Linked DNA regions of Homo sapiens: all the other regions are linked to region 4. The links are contacts of gene promoters, found by promoter capture Hi-C in blood cells and fetal thymus (Javierre and others, 2016). All regions are on one chromosome and are shown on one strand. The core of a region is centred on a gene start or on the middle of the fragment in contact, and the rest is flanking DNA. Distances in the headings are between cores, read along the strand shown.

Region 1 (2,700 bases), core at 6-2,505, 830 kb before region 4:
AGTTTGCCTTTCCCACCCACAGAGCCTCAGCCAGCATCAATATCCAGACGTTTATGCAGTGCATGATCCACAAGCATGTAAACCTATGTAACATAGCATCCAAACAGGGGCCACAACTCACAGCAAAGTGGGTGCAGAAGTGAGCCCATGGTCATGTGATTCCCAGATGACATCACAGATGCTCCATCAAGAGGCAACCAACCCACAATAGAACATTGCAGTGGCCTATCGAAGGCACAGCTGGAGTACCAGTTTACAGGCAATAGTCTACAAAAAGGAGGTGCTATCCTCCAGAATGCAGAATAAATAAATCAGAGATCTCCATAGAGTGCTATGCTCCTAATAAGAATACATGGGTCAAGGAACCAGGGGAAAGAAGCAGGAATCATCATTCTTACCATTATTCTCAATGGCCCTCTGGGGAAATGCATGTTTCCTGTCGCCTTAACTCTGGGCTCTGCAGGTTTAGAAGTCCTTGTCTTCAAAGGAGGCACACTCTTGCCAGGGGACAGAGCAAGAGTTTCATTGAACTACGGGTGTCTCCTGGACATTTTGGACTCCTTGTGTACAAGATTAACAGGTAAGAAGGGGCGTCTCCATCTGGGCAAGTGTGATTAACTCCGATAACTAGAGGAGATAGGACTGCTTTTGGTCAACTGAGACATGGAGGAATACATATAGAACCTAGGCGATCCACTTAGGTATTTCTCAGTTCTCCTTAGCCCCCACTGTAATGGTAAATGAACATAGGAAGCAACCCTTGGCTTAGAGGTTATGATTACTAGAGTCTCAGACCCTGTAAAACCAATGGTTTAAGTCACATGACCAGGTTAGTCATCAAGACCTGCCAAGCTAATAGCCAAGGATGAGGTGAATTTAGAATGGATAGTGCTGGAGTGAGATGATGAGTACTTGCTGCAGCCCCCAGGAGACTATACTTTGTCCCCCTGGTCTCTCTCTTCTAACATTCCCCTCCTGAGCAGAGGGCCATAGGAACAATGGAGGAGCCACTCCCCAAACACACATGGAGAAATAGCCCTGTGCTGTGTGAGGGGTAGACTCTGGCAGCCATGGAGTGAACTGCTCCAATCTCCTTTCAAGAGAGAACCGGCTGCGAGAGGTGTAGTTAGCTTATGCCTCCAGCTGCCACAACTTCAGCATCCACTGCAGCATTCATGCTGAGGCCATGCACTCCCTGGGTTGCTCCCAGCCAATGACTGAGCACAGCAGGGGTACTTGAGCTGGGCCTTTCCTACTCAATTTAGCTTTCCTTTAAGGAGAAATCTTTGCTCTGCAGTGCCATGCTGGCCTCGCCGAGGCTTTCTCAGAGCTTTACTACAGCCTGAAGACTTTCTACCACATCCTCCTTCCGCCTCTCTCTCGACACACGTCAGAGCTGTATCATGGTATCGGGTGCTCCCTATTTACTGCTATTTCCTCTCCCCTCAGCTTATTGTGAAGTTTTTCTCACAACATGTCTCTTGGCCTAATTCTATCTTGACATCTGCTTCCTGGAGAATTTAAATTGACATAATAGGTTTGAGCAAGTGGGTTAATTTATTTCTTCATCTTAAAAGGAAGAGGTAGGCTGGGCACAGCTGCTCATGCCCATTAATCCCAGCACTTTGGAAGACCGAGGTGGGAGGATCACTTGAGGTCAAGAGTTCAAGACCAGTCTGGGCAACATAGCAAAACCTGTCTCTCCAAAAAAGAAAAAAAAATAAAGGAAGAGAGGAATATTGGGTAGGTAAGTAGAGCTAGATCATTATTCTAAGTACCAACATGAAATTTCTATAGTTTTAAAAAGTGGGAGGAATAATTAGAAAATTCTTTTTTTTCTATTTTTAATTTTTTTATTATACTTTAAGTTCTAGGGTACATGTGCACAACGTGCAGGTTACATATGCATACATGTGCCATGTTGGTGTGCTGCACCCGTTAACTCATCATTTACATTAGGTGTATCTCCTAATGATATACCTCCCCCCTCCCCCCAGCCCATGACAGGCCCCAGTGTGTGATGCTCCCCACCCTGTGTCCAAGTGTTCTCATTGTTCAATTCCCATCTATGAGTGAGAACATGTGGTGTTTGGTTTTTCGTCCTTGAGATAGTTTGCTGAGAATGATGGTTTCCAGCTTCATCCATGTCCCTACCAAGGACATGAACTCATCCTTTTTTATGGCTGCATAGTATTCCGTGGTGTATATGTGCCACATTTGCTTAATCCAGTCTATCACTGATGGACATTTGGGTTGGTTCCAAGTCTTTGCTATTGTAAATAGTGCCGCAATAAACACACGTGTGCATGTGTCTTTACAGCAGCATGATTTATAATCCTTTGGGTATATGTCCAGTAATGGGATGGGTGGGTCAAATATTTCTAGTTCTAGGTCCTTGAGGAATTGCCACACTGTCTTCCACAATGGTTGAACTAGTTTACGGTCCCACCAGCAGTGTAAAAGTGTTCCTGTTTCTCCACATCCTCACCAGCACCTGTCGTTTCCTGACTTTTTAATGATCGCCATTCTAACTGGTGTGACATGGTATCTCATTGTGGTTTTGATTTGCAAGAAAATTATTCTTTATTCATATTTGAAACAAACAATTTTCTTATTTGTTCACCTAATAAAATATATGCTTGGTTATCTTTATTGCTCACAAATTAGGGAAATCACACGAAAAAACTAATTGATACTTTC
Region 2 (2,700 bases), core at 116-2,615, 710 kb before region 4:
TCTCCCTTATTGCCCCTCACGGTATTGGCAATCAAAACCATCTCTAGGCATTAGCTGGCCTCTGAGGAATGAATTTGCCTTTGAGAACCACTGGTCTAGAGATTTCACTAGATAACATCCACTTAAACAATTTTAATACCTATCATTTATTGAGCGTTTACACATATCTGTTATCCCCAGACTCATTTTACAAGGCAGGTGGTTTTATTTATTTATTTATTTATTTATTTATTTGAGGCAGGGTCTTACTCTGCCATCTAGATTGGAGTGCAGTAATGTGGTTATAGCTTACTCTAACCTCAAACTCCTGGGCTCAAGTGATCTCACCTCAGTCTTCCAAGTAGCTGGGACTACAGGTGTGGGCCAGCACACCCAGATAATTCTTAATAAGTTTTTGTAGAGGCAGGGTCTCACTATATTGCTCAGCCTGGCAGGGTAAGTATTGCCTACATTTCACAGTTGAAGAAACTGAGGCTTAAAGGGTTAGAGTCGCTTGCCTAAAAGCATACAGCTGGTAGCTCTGGGATTCTGACTAAGGTTGGTCTAACTCCAAAGCTTGTATAATTTCTGCTGTAACCCTCCCTCCCTCTGGAAAGTTAAGAATTTTAGAAAAATTTAAAGTAAAAAAAATTTTCTCAAGTCAACTCAAGTCCAAAAATATTTATTGAGCTAGATGCCACGAGAAGCTACAAGAAAAATCTAAGCTGTTGCTCCCCTCAGGTTTTCAATATCAACGTCATTGAGAAGGTCAGATGTTTCACACAACACAGAGCAACTATGAGACATTCTGAGTTTGGGCCAAAATGAGTATTTCTAGAGGCAGTACTTTGTGAACGAAATGGCCTTTGTGTATGTCTGCTTCACATTTCCTTTTGCTGCCAATCATAATGATTAAAAAAAGAGCAATGAAGCCTTGAAGTTCATGGAATCTACCAGCCACATGTCCTATAAAATACTAATTCTCTTGTCTTGGGGTGAGCTGTGGGTTGCTTCCAAGCAAACACTCAGCTATCTTCTTTCTGGCTCTCTGCATGAAGTTCACCTCTCCCCTCTCCCTGCGTATGGTGGTATACTCATAAGCCTTCAGCTTGCTGTAGTAATCAGAAAACTTGTTGTAGAGGATGGAAATGGGCATCCCGTTGAGAATGATCCCAAAAGCAATGCAGAGGAAGGCAAAAAACCTGCCCAGGTGGGTCTCTGGGTACATGTCTCCGTAGCCCACGGTGGAGATGCTCACCTGTAGAGGAAGGAAAGCAGGATGGAATTGTTAGCACTAAGATCGGGGAGGAGAAGAAAGGGAGAGGAGCAAGCAGGGAAGCGTCCTCCCTGTGGGTACACATGGGAAGTGTAATGGCTTCCCACGGAGCCTGCTTTAGGAGGTACCAGGAAGACTCCCTCTAGGACCTGTGTCATGAAAAGAACAGAAGCTATGGATGGAGCTGAAAGACTTTGGCTGAAATCCTGACTACGACTCATGCATGTTTGAATGTAAGATATGGGAGGAGGAGGTAATACCTACTTGAAATGGTTGCTGTAAAGAGCATTTAAAATAGTATGTTAAGTACCTGATGTAGAACGTGCTCAGTAAATGATCTTTGCCTCCCTAACTCAGCTGGCACCAGATTCAGGAAAGCAGGTCCCTGGGTTTGCCTGTACACTGTATGTATTGGAAAAATCTTGGGCTTAGAACAGTCAGACCTGGGTTCAAGTCCTGACTCTGAACCTTTCCAGTTGAGTGACCTGGGGCAAAACCTTCAGACTCTCTCTCTCTCTTTTTCTTTTTTTCTTTTTTTTTTTTTTTATTTAAAACAGGAGAAAACCATCTAACTCTTAGGATTCTTGTGAAGGCTAAATAAGAAAATGAATATAAAGCACTGAACACAGTACCAGGCATACAAAAGGCATGAAACTCCTCCATTGTCTTCCTCTCATCTTTAAAATGAAGACAGTTATAACACTTTTCAAAGTTGTTACGTAGTTCAAATGAGAGACTTTATGTGAAGGTGCTTTAATTGCAGATGTCTGGAGAAACACTCTCATTATTTTGTAAAGGGACTTTTGTAAGACATCACTCACCAAAAATATGTTCACCCCTGCATGAAATACTTCCCATTACTCTTGTCATACTGATTTAAATCCCACTAATTGGAGACTTATTTAGGTTAACAAGCTTCTGTTTTAAAATGCAGATACCATGGGACTAGTTATCAGTTACCAGAGAAAACCCTGTGAAAATTCCTTGGGGACTGTTTTTTATGCCTCATGTACTCCCTCTGATCCCCAGAGTATTGGCTAAATTACTAGAAGCCTTTTAAGCAGAGCTGTTGGTCACAGTTGTAAACATTTTTGCGTTGCACTACTCCAGGGGGGCACTCTTTGCTTTGTGTATTTGGGTAGTTGTTGCCATAATTTTCCAGCAGACGGCAGTAAAGCATATGGTCATCTTGTTGATCCGTGCTGAGGTGGCCGTTAGCTTAGCAGTGTAAATATTTTTGTTTTGATGATGTAAGGGTTAGTTTGAACCTGGAATAGTGCAGTTGACTGATTAGAATGAAATGGAGAAGTGAGCCAGCTGCACAAAACTGAGGGCACTGATGAGAACCACAGCTCCATCCAGCCCACGAAAAAAGGAAGGGTATGCCTCCTTTTTGAGGCTGATGATGCACCTCCTGTCACTCACTGCCCTGTCTCTTGTGAGAG
Region 3 (2,700 bases), core at 78-2,577, 750 kb before region 4:
TTACAGGCATGCACCGTCATGCCCAGCTAATTTTTGTATTGTTGGTAGAGATGGGGTTTTACCATATTGGCCAGGCTTGTGTTGAACCCCTGACCTCAAGTGATCTGCCCAGCTTGCCCTCCCAAAGTGCTAGGATTACAGGCATGAGCCACCACGCCTGGCCTAGGATAAAATATTTTAATTTCCTTTTATTATATACCTGTGTTGGTATATAGAGCCAAGCCTTACTGCTGTGAGCATCATATGAGGCCCTGGTCATAGCTCCTGTCTGTGGCTACTGTGGAGTTTGCCACTTCCTGTTTCCATGATCTTAGATGAACCAAACTCTACAAGGGAAAATACTTTGTAAGTTACAAAACTGCCTGACAACCACTGATCAGAATTATTCTTGCTGTTTCCTGTGCCGCATTTCTCTCAAGCAGGAGAGAAGTCTGTAGTTCTCAATGGCTGTCACCCACGGCAAGGACAGCTTCTTTCTTTGTGGAGCAGAGACGTGTGACTCTGAGTCAGTGGCAGGCAATGTTATGCTGGTAATAAGAACTCTATAATGAAGCGGTCTGAGAATATGAGTGCATTGTCCTCCTTTCTTTTGTTTCTCTTTTTTTTTTTTTTTTTTTTTTTTGAGATGGAGTCTCACTCTGTCACTCAGGCTAGAGTGCAATAGTGCCCACTGCAACCTCCACCTCCTGGGTTCAAGTGATTCACCTCCCTCAGGCTTCCAAGTAGGTGGGATAACAGGCACCTGCCACCATGCCTGGCTAATTTTTGCATTTTTATAGAGTCAGGGTTTCACCATGTTGGCGAGGCTGGCCTCAAACCCCTGACCTCAGGTGATCCACCCATCTCAGCCTCCCAAAATGCTAGAATTACAGGCATGAGTCACCACGCCCAGCCTTGCCCTCCTTTCTTGATGAAGCCCCTGCTCATATCTATCTTTAGCTATAGTGTTCACAAAAAGATTATTAGATTATCGCAATCTCAAGTGTTATTTGTGCCTTGTTTAATAGACTTGAGCAAAAGTATTTCAAGGGCCTGTGCCAGGTGTTTTCTCTCTTTTTAATCCTTTTTCAGCTGGCAAGGATCATGCACATTTATTCTGGATTTGGCTGATTTTCCCGGGAATGTATGGTGAGATGTGAGTTTGCAACACCATTATTTTTTTTAAGGAACAATAAGGGCATATACACAGAAAGCACCCATCCACATATAATTTTGAATCCCAGGGTCCTTAGAGATATGCTAGTCAGCCCAACTCCCCTCATTTGCAGATTTGGGTGCCAGAAGTGAAAACGCCTTTGCAAAATTTTGACAGTAAGAGAAATCTGACATAGTTACTCCATCTTGATTCTAACCTCCAAGTTGTCCTTGGTCATTCCTGGGCATAAGCCAAGCTAGGTTTGGCAGGAATTAGGTTTATGGTTTAACTTTAAAGCAAGGATGATAATAGCCCTTCCCCAAACTAAACCACCTCTATAAAACTAAGTTCGCAAGGTTGTGATTATGAGAGGGGCCTGAATTCTGCTGAGATGTAGGCGTAGTTAAATGATTACCAGCCCTTGTTCTGGAGGTAACAAGACTTGCAATTTCCCCAATGATTCCCCTAGATAACATCACTATTGTGAAACCTAACATTAGCTTTTTGAGATGTTTTTTAGACTTTTGCATTTCTGACTCCACACAGACCCTCAATTCATGACTCAACCAGTCCTGTGGCCCCCACAGGTGGGCTGAGAGCATGAGAACTGTTTTCCAGACCCCTGTGATTTCATCCCCAATCAATGAACATCCCCCATTCCCTAGCCCCCTGCCCACCAAACTGTCCTTGTAAAACCCTAACCTCCAAACTTATGGGGAGACTGATTTTAGTAATTACTTCATCTCCCACATGGCTAGCCTTGTGTCAGTTAAACTCTTTCCTTACTGCTGTGCTGCAGTCTCAGTGAATTGATTTTGTCTGTGCAATGGGCAGGGAGACGTTGTTGAGTGATTACACTAAAACTACCCATTTATTTTTTAAAGAGAGAGAGAGGGAAAGTATTTGTGTGCAGAGAGAAAGAGAATGCTAAAGTAAAATATAAAATGTTGACAGGTGGAGAATCTAGGTGGAGGGTATGCAGATTTCCATTTTACTAGCCTTTTTATTTTCTCTTTACTTTTCCTTATAAAAATGAGGGTAGGAGTGGTTAAAGCCAGGTCTAGAGGACTCAGAAAATATCTTGTGCCAGTGGAGAAGTACATGATTATTTAAGACTAGGTTTTTTGCCATACAGAGGATGATAATGTGGGAGACCAGCATGTGCCTCCCCAAAATAGAAAGAATTGTTGAGCTGAAGACAATTAAGAAGTAGATGCAGGGAAGTTCTCAGCCCTGCCTCTATTTGCCTAAAGCAGAACATAGATTTTGAAGGAAATAAAAATATTTCACTCCTAAATATATTTATTTGTCCTATTTTGAGATGGCTGTCAGAGGGTCAGCAAACAGAAGTGTCCCTGCAAAGCTGTCTTTAGTGAGGAAAATTTGCATCTGGAGAGACCTTCATTAATGAAGCCTTCCCTTGTCTGGATTTAGAAAGATTAACTGAGAGTTGGACACTTTTAAAAGTCCGGAAAACACACACACACACACACACGCACACACACTTCTATTCTCCCTGAAAGCTGCTGTCTGTGAGGATTCCTCTAGACAAGACCACGCCTTCT
Region 4 (2,705 bases), core at 146-2,645:
AGTGCGTGTCATCGTTGGGAGGAGGCTCCTACCCGGTCTCCCCGCCTCCCGCCCTCGCCACCCCCCTATTCCCTCCCCACCGCAGCCCTTCCCCTTCCCGGGCGAACCACACCGCCGCTGCCCGGTGGTGCGCGGGTCCTGTTTGTGACAGTCAGGCAGACAGGATTATCCGGATCATGGCCTCCCGGGCCCGCAGCCGCCGCCGTGGCTCTCCTGGGTCCCGGCGCGCCCCTAGCACCCGGACGATCGCAGGCGCCCCACGCCCGCAGCTCCCGCGGCGCAAGCAAGGGGAAGACGCGAAGCAAAAGAACACGGACCCGGGGAGAGGGAGGGCAGGGTAACGGAGGCTGGCGGGCACCTCCGACCTCCTTGGGGGCCTCCTCCCTTCCCTCCAGCAGTGCGGCCCGGGCCGGACATCCCGAACTTTAACACCCGAGCCTGCGCTGCCGCCAGGTACCAGAGGCAGGGACGTCCGCAGCGCCCGGGGCGCAGCCCCCTGGCAGCCCCTTTGCCTAAAGGCCTGCCTACCAATCAGCCTCCCCATCCACGCCGGAGGAAACGCGGAAAGTGGAGGTGACACCTCCGATCAGGCACGCACCGGCCCCGCGGCAGTGGCCGCTACCTCCTTCGCGCGTCAGCTCAGGCTTCTCCCGCTGCGATCCGCTCACGTCTCCGCAGCCGGAGCCCTTTGAACAAGTCCCTGGGAAGCGGGTGGCAACAGCGTCCGTTGGCGCCCCGCCGCCAGCCTGGGCTCCCCGCCCTCCTTTCCCGTTCCCCTTCCAACTCTTCCGGGGAGGGTTGCCCGGGATGAACAGTAGCGTTTCCATCCTCCTCCCCTGTCCCCCAGGCCTTCCCCCTCCTGCGGCCACCCCCCTCCCCGCCGCCTCACTTTTAAGGGGATGGGGGGATTGCAACCTGGCCCAATGTGTGTGTTGCAACCTTGAGTTGGCAGCGCCTCTGACTGCCCACTCAGGATCAAGGCTGTGGCTTGTTGGGATTTTTTTCCTCCTTTGCCCCCTTGAAGTAGTAATTATTACTGTTATTATTAGAACAGCAAGGTTCGGTTGAAACTTTCTCGTTTCTTCCACCGCCGCCTGGGAGCTGTCGTTAGAGCATTCCACCTGAGGCCCGCGGGGAGGAGGCGGGCTTTTTTTTGTCGCGGCGGTTGGCCCGCCTGTTTGTTTTGGTCTCCTTGCATGCACAATAAATAATAATTAGGATAATAATGGATAATCCCGGGCGAAGGCGGCGTGGTGCCGGAGGGGTCTGAGCGGCGGCTGCAGCGGGGCGGCCGAAGGGAGGGGAAAGAGGAGAAAAGAGTTGTAAGTTATATTTACCTTGCTCGCGAGGAGTGTGCTGGCTGAATCTCTTCCCTCTCTGAGTCACCCAGAGTACAGAAACAGAGGGAGAGAGGACTAGATTATGAATATGACTTCATTGATGACAGCCGTCCCCTCCTCTTCCTAAACTCGGGCTCCGCCCAGCGTCCCACCCTCGCCTCCTCCGCGGGCGCCGGAAGACGCGCCGCAGTTGGCCCCGCGCGCCGCTCCTCCCTGCCCGTCCGGGCGCGGGTTGGCGGGACGCGCCTGTCACTCGCTCAGCTCAGCGACTCCGGGAGCGCGGGGGGAGGAGGGGGCGGTGTGCAAGAATGTGGATCTAGACAGCTCTACTGTATGCGTGGATCCGTGTGTGACTGCAAGGCGCCGGCTCTCGGGCCGCGTTTGTGCCTGGAGCAGAGAAACTGCGCGGGATGCAGAAAGCCCCAAGCCCTGCTGGAGCTGGGCGCCCGCTGTCCCTTCCCTGGCAGTCCTCTTCCTCGGGCGCCGCGGGGCTCCTCCAGGGAGACTGCGGAAGGGGAGGAGGCGAAGCGAAAACGGAGGGCAGCCGTAGTAATAGCGCGTAGTAGTTCGGGGGTATGTGGAGAAGGTGCTGGAATTTAACTGTGCCTCCGCCTGCCAGTGCGAGCCTGCAGAGAGAGAGGGAGGGGACGGGGGACGGGCTCCGAGTGGCACCAAAGCTGTTTGTGGCACAGTGTGGACTGTGGAAAAAACGGGCATTGTCGTGCCGGCTGAAACTTTTTCTCCCCCTTCCCTAAGGCTGTCATTATAAATCTGCCCCCTATTCCAGGTAAAAAAATAAAAAATAGAAAAGGGAGGCGGGCACAAAGAACGTTCCTGCCAAATCTGTCTCTTCCCTGAAGGACTGCAAGCTTCCAAATGCCAACGAGGGAGAAACAGCTGAGAGGCTGAACGCCTTATAAATAAGTAAACCCACCCTAACCTCTCTGTTTACTTCGTGGACTAGGTACAGCACTATAACCTTCCCTCACCTGCCATCTTCGCTAAAATATATACAAAAATATGGAAAAACAAACCCTGGGGGCGGGGCTGGCGGGTTAGGGGGCGGCTGAAGCATGGAATCTGGTTTTGATTTAAAAAGGGGAATAAATCTCTTATTTTCTACAGACCGTAGTCTCTTCCCTCTCACCCCGCATTTGAGACCAATTAAGGCTGCAAATTGTAATTTGCTGGCAAGTCGCGGTTTTGAGACCTCTTTGCTCCAATTTTCCTTGAAATACAGTACTTTGGCCGGACCAATAGGTCGGTGTTTGGTGAGACAATTTTATTTTTAGTTTTATGAAGTGTGAAAGAATGTTAGGAGACTTTAAATCAGGGGCCTATTATTTTAGACTCAGATTAATGTAG
Region 5 (2,700 bases), core at 168-2,667, 800 kb before region 4:
GTCAGGTGGTGGTGTTGTGGTCTCTCTTTGTAGCCTCCTGGGATCAGTAGAGCTGAGTGTAGTAGAAAAAGTATACCAGCTAGTGGAGGGGAAGATTGTTTTCTTAGATGCCAGCCGTAGGTCCCAGTGTGTGTGAATTTCTCATGCCCTTGCTGTCATTTTCCAACTTTACCCTTGACTGTTTTAAGATTGTGATGACTTTCTTTGGGATAGGATTGTGGGAAGAAACAAGTTGGCAAGACTTTCATGTTACAAACTGAGTATTTTGACATGTTCCTTGTGACTTTATTACCCTTTTGACTCCAATCAATAATGATTGTTTTTCATTCTTGTGACAGAGATGTGAGGCCATAGAATTGGCTGATGAATAAAGTTGTTTCACAGAAATGGAAACAGGCTGGGATATTGAAAGTTTGCTTTTGTTTAATATTTTCACGACAACTAAAATGTGCATAGCTGTTCCAAATGGATTTCAAGAGAAACCAAATTTCCTTCATGATTTGCCAGAATTGTCTGTTAATTTTTTTCCAAAGATGTATGCCACTTAAAGTTGCTGTTGAAAAAGTTTTAATTCCTTATGCTTATCACTTTGATTCCCACAACTGCTTAACCCACATTCTTAACGACTTTCTCATACTTAGGGCAGCTTTCCCTGAATGGCCTGATTTGCCGATCTCTTTCCTGTAACTGACAAACGTTCAACAGGTTCTGTGTATTATTAAACTGTGTAGCTCGTGATAAAATTCTGGAATGCTAATTGCCCTTGGATTTTTCCCATCACTCATCCACCACAAAAACAGTTGCAGTATGCAGTGCTTTTTAAAAATAACCAGGAAAGCTTAGTGTTGCTAAGCACTCTGTTCAGGGCACCAGACTTCCCAAAATGTCAGGTTGAAATCACAGCCTGGTCAGCTGAGCTCTTCGCCTTTCAAAATGGATACGAGCTCTTTCTTACTACTTTCCTAAATAAACATAAAGTTTCATCCAGTTTACCTTTGCAGTCAATTGATATGCAGACGGTTTGACAGCAATGGTCGCTGGAAAGTAAATAAGTATACTAGCCAATTGCTGTTTGAGGGTGAATAAATATTGATGCATATTTTTAAAGCCATTGTCTTTAAAATATACAGAAAGGTATGAATAATACAGTGAACATCCAGCCTCCCACCACCTGACATGAAATAAAACTTGACAAATACAGTTCAAGTTTAAGCCCTTTGTGTACCCATCCCTGATATCCTATCATCGCCCCATATCTACTATGATAAATTTGGTATTTATTATTCATCTGCATTTCCTTATCCTTTCACTATATGTGGACATTTTTTATTTTGTAAAACATGTATCTAATTTTATTTTACATGTTTGCAAGTTCTGTATAAATGATGTCTTACATGTATTTTTCTGCATCTTGCTTTTTTTCTTTTCTCATGTTTGTGAGATTTATTGTCAGGGGTCAGCAAGCCTTTTTATAAAGGGCCAGTTAATAATTATTTTAGCCTTTGTGGGGTATATATGGTCCTATCATGTATTCTTGTGCATTTTGTTTTTGTTTTTTAAAACCCTTTTGAAATGTAAAAACCATTATTAGCTTGCAAGATGGACAAAAACAGGCTATAGGCTGAATTTGACCAATGGGCCATAGTTTACCCATCCCTATTCTAAATCATTTATTTTTCACTGCCAAATAGTATTCTATTACATGTGACTATACTGCGATTTATTTTCTGTTTTCCTGGTGATGGATGTTTAGGTTGTTTACAATTTTAAAAACTAACTTTAATTCTTAATTTTTGCTAATCCAAATCCTTGAACATTCTTGTGTATATTTCCTTGGGTACATGTTAAGTTTCTCTAAGGCACTTAGCAGAATTGCTGGGCTGCCAAATTTGCTGCATGTATGTTTATATAGAGAGTCACGTGTTCCTATTTCCCACTCAGCCACTACGAAACCATTGCATTACGCAGTGCTTTTAAAAATAGCCAAGAAAGCTTAGTGTGTTGCTAAGCATTCCATTTAGAGTAACTAGATTTCCCAAAATGTCAAGTTGAAATCATAGCCCGATAATCACTGCTTGTTTTCTGTTAAGACTAAGCTCTAGTGTAATCAGCAGATAGTGATCTTCTAGTCAGATGTGGTCTCCCCACCCACTCAACTACTATAGTCTTTTTCTTTGCCATCCTTTCCTTGAGCAGTTAATCATGATCTCACCCAGGGCTCACAAACCTGCAAACCTTCATTGACCAGATAGGTAAATGAGTGGCCAGGCCAGGTGTGAGACAAGGAGATGTGGGAGGGACTGTAGGAAATGGCGAGAGCACACACCCTCTGCAAGGTGGTGGGCACCATTCAGCTCCAGTCCCTGGCAGTGTGAGCTCCATGGCGATAGATCTTCACATTTGTTTTCTTTTTAATTGAGGTAAACTACATATAACAAAATTTAGCATGTTAACCATTTTGAAGGATACAGTTAAGTAGTATTAAATATGCTCATTGTTAGGCAATCTCCAGGACTTTTTTTATTTTGCAAAACTGAATGAAGCAGCGTACCCACTAAACTAGACCTTCCAGTTTTTTTAGTGCAGCTGAAAAGGTAGACTTTTGGAAACAGTCACCCTGTTTTCAGAACAAAATACTTGGGAAGCTGCCTGATGATCTAACCTGCCCTCTATATTTCTGTTATCCATTAGTTAAATCTC

Evidence for each region. Contacts are between HindIII fragments. The CHiCAGO score rates a contact against its expected background, and 5 or more counts as called.
Region 1: a contact is called between a fragment that was not itself captured here and the fragment with the promoter of SMARCA2 in region 4, in 4 of 17 cell types (activated CD4 T cells, naive CD8 T cells, non-activated CD4 T cells and 1 more). The highest score is 7.1, in activated CD4 T cells.
Region 2: a fragment that was not itself captured here is called in contact with the fragment with the promoter of SMARCA2 in region 4 in 1 of 17 cell types (endothelial precursors); the score reaches 5.6 in endothelial precursors.
Region 3: a fragment that was not itself captured here is called in contact with the fragment with the promoter of SMARCA2 in region 4 in 2 of 17 cell types (M1 macrophages and M0 macrophages); the score reaches 5.2 in M1 macrophages.
Region 5: a contact is called between a fragment that was not itself captured here and the fragment with the promoter of SMARCA2 in region 4, in 2 of 17 cell types (megakaryocytes and erythroblasts). The highest score is 7.2, in megakaryocytes.

Annotation. Positions count from the first base shown.
Region 1 is chr9:2,848,817-2,851,516 of GRCh38, reverse strand. No RefSeq gene overlaps it. Among named protein-coding and RNA genes, the nearest start is that of PUM3, 6.1 kb to the right of the region's middle. The HindIII fragment of the contact is 3,362 bases long and covers 1-2,700 here.
Region 2 is chr9:2,727,983-2,730,682 of GRCh38, reverse strand. It overlaps KCNV2 (potassium voltage-gated channel modifier subfamily V member 2), which reads right to left. Exons shown (of 2, transcript NM_133497.4): 2 at 646-1,237. The coding sequence ends at 956. Among named protein-coding and RNA genes, the nearest start is that of KCNV2, 12 kb to the right of the region's middle. The HindIII fragment of the contact is 1,615 bases long and covers 558-2,172 here.
Region 3 is chr9:2,762,236-2,764,935 of GRCh38, reverse strand. No RefSeq gene overlaps it. Among named protein-coding and RNA genes, the nearest start is that of KCNV2, 46 kb to the right of the region's middle. The HindIII fragment of the contact is 3,526 bases long and covers 1-2,700 here.
Region 4 is chr9:2,014,037-2,016,741 of GRCh38, reverse strand. It overlaps SMARCA2 (SWI/SNF related BAF chromatin remodeling complex subunit ATPase 2), which reads right to left and starts at 1,395. Exons shown (of 34, transcript NM_003070.5): 1 at 1,338-1,395. RefSeq lists silencers at 36-205, 1,346-1,685 and enhancers at 393-949, 1,736-1,785, 1,846-1,895. The HindIII fragment of the contact is 4,329 bases long and covers 1-2,211 here.
Region 5 is chr9:2,816,243-2,818,942 of GRCh38, reverse strand. The region is part of intron 13 of PUM3 (pumilio RNA binding family member 3); the gene reads left to right. Among named protein-coding and RNA genes, the nearest start is that of PUM3, 27 kb to the left of the region's middle. The HindIII fragment of the contact is 1,154 bases long and covers 841-1,994 here.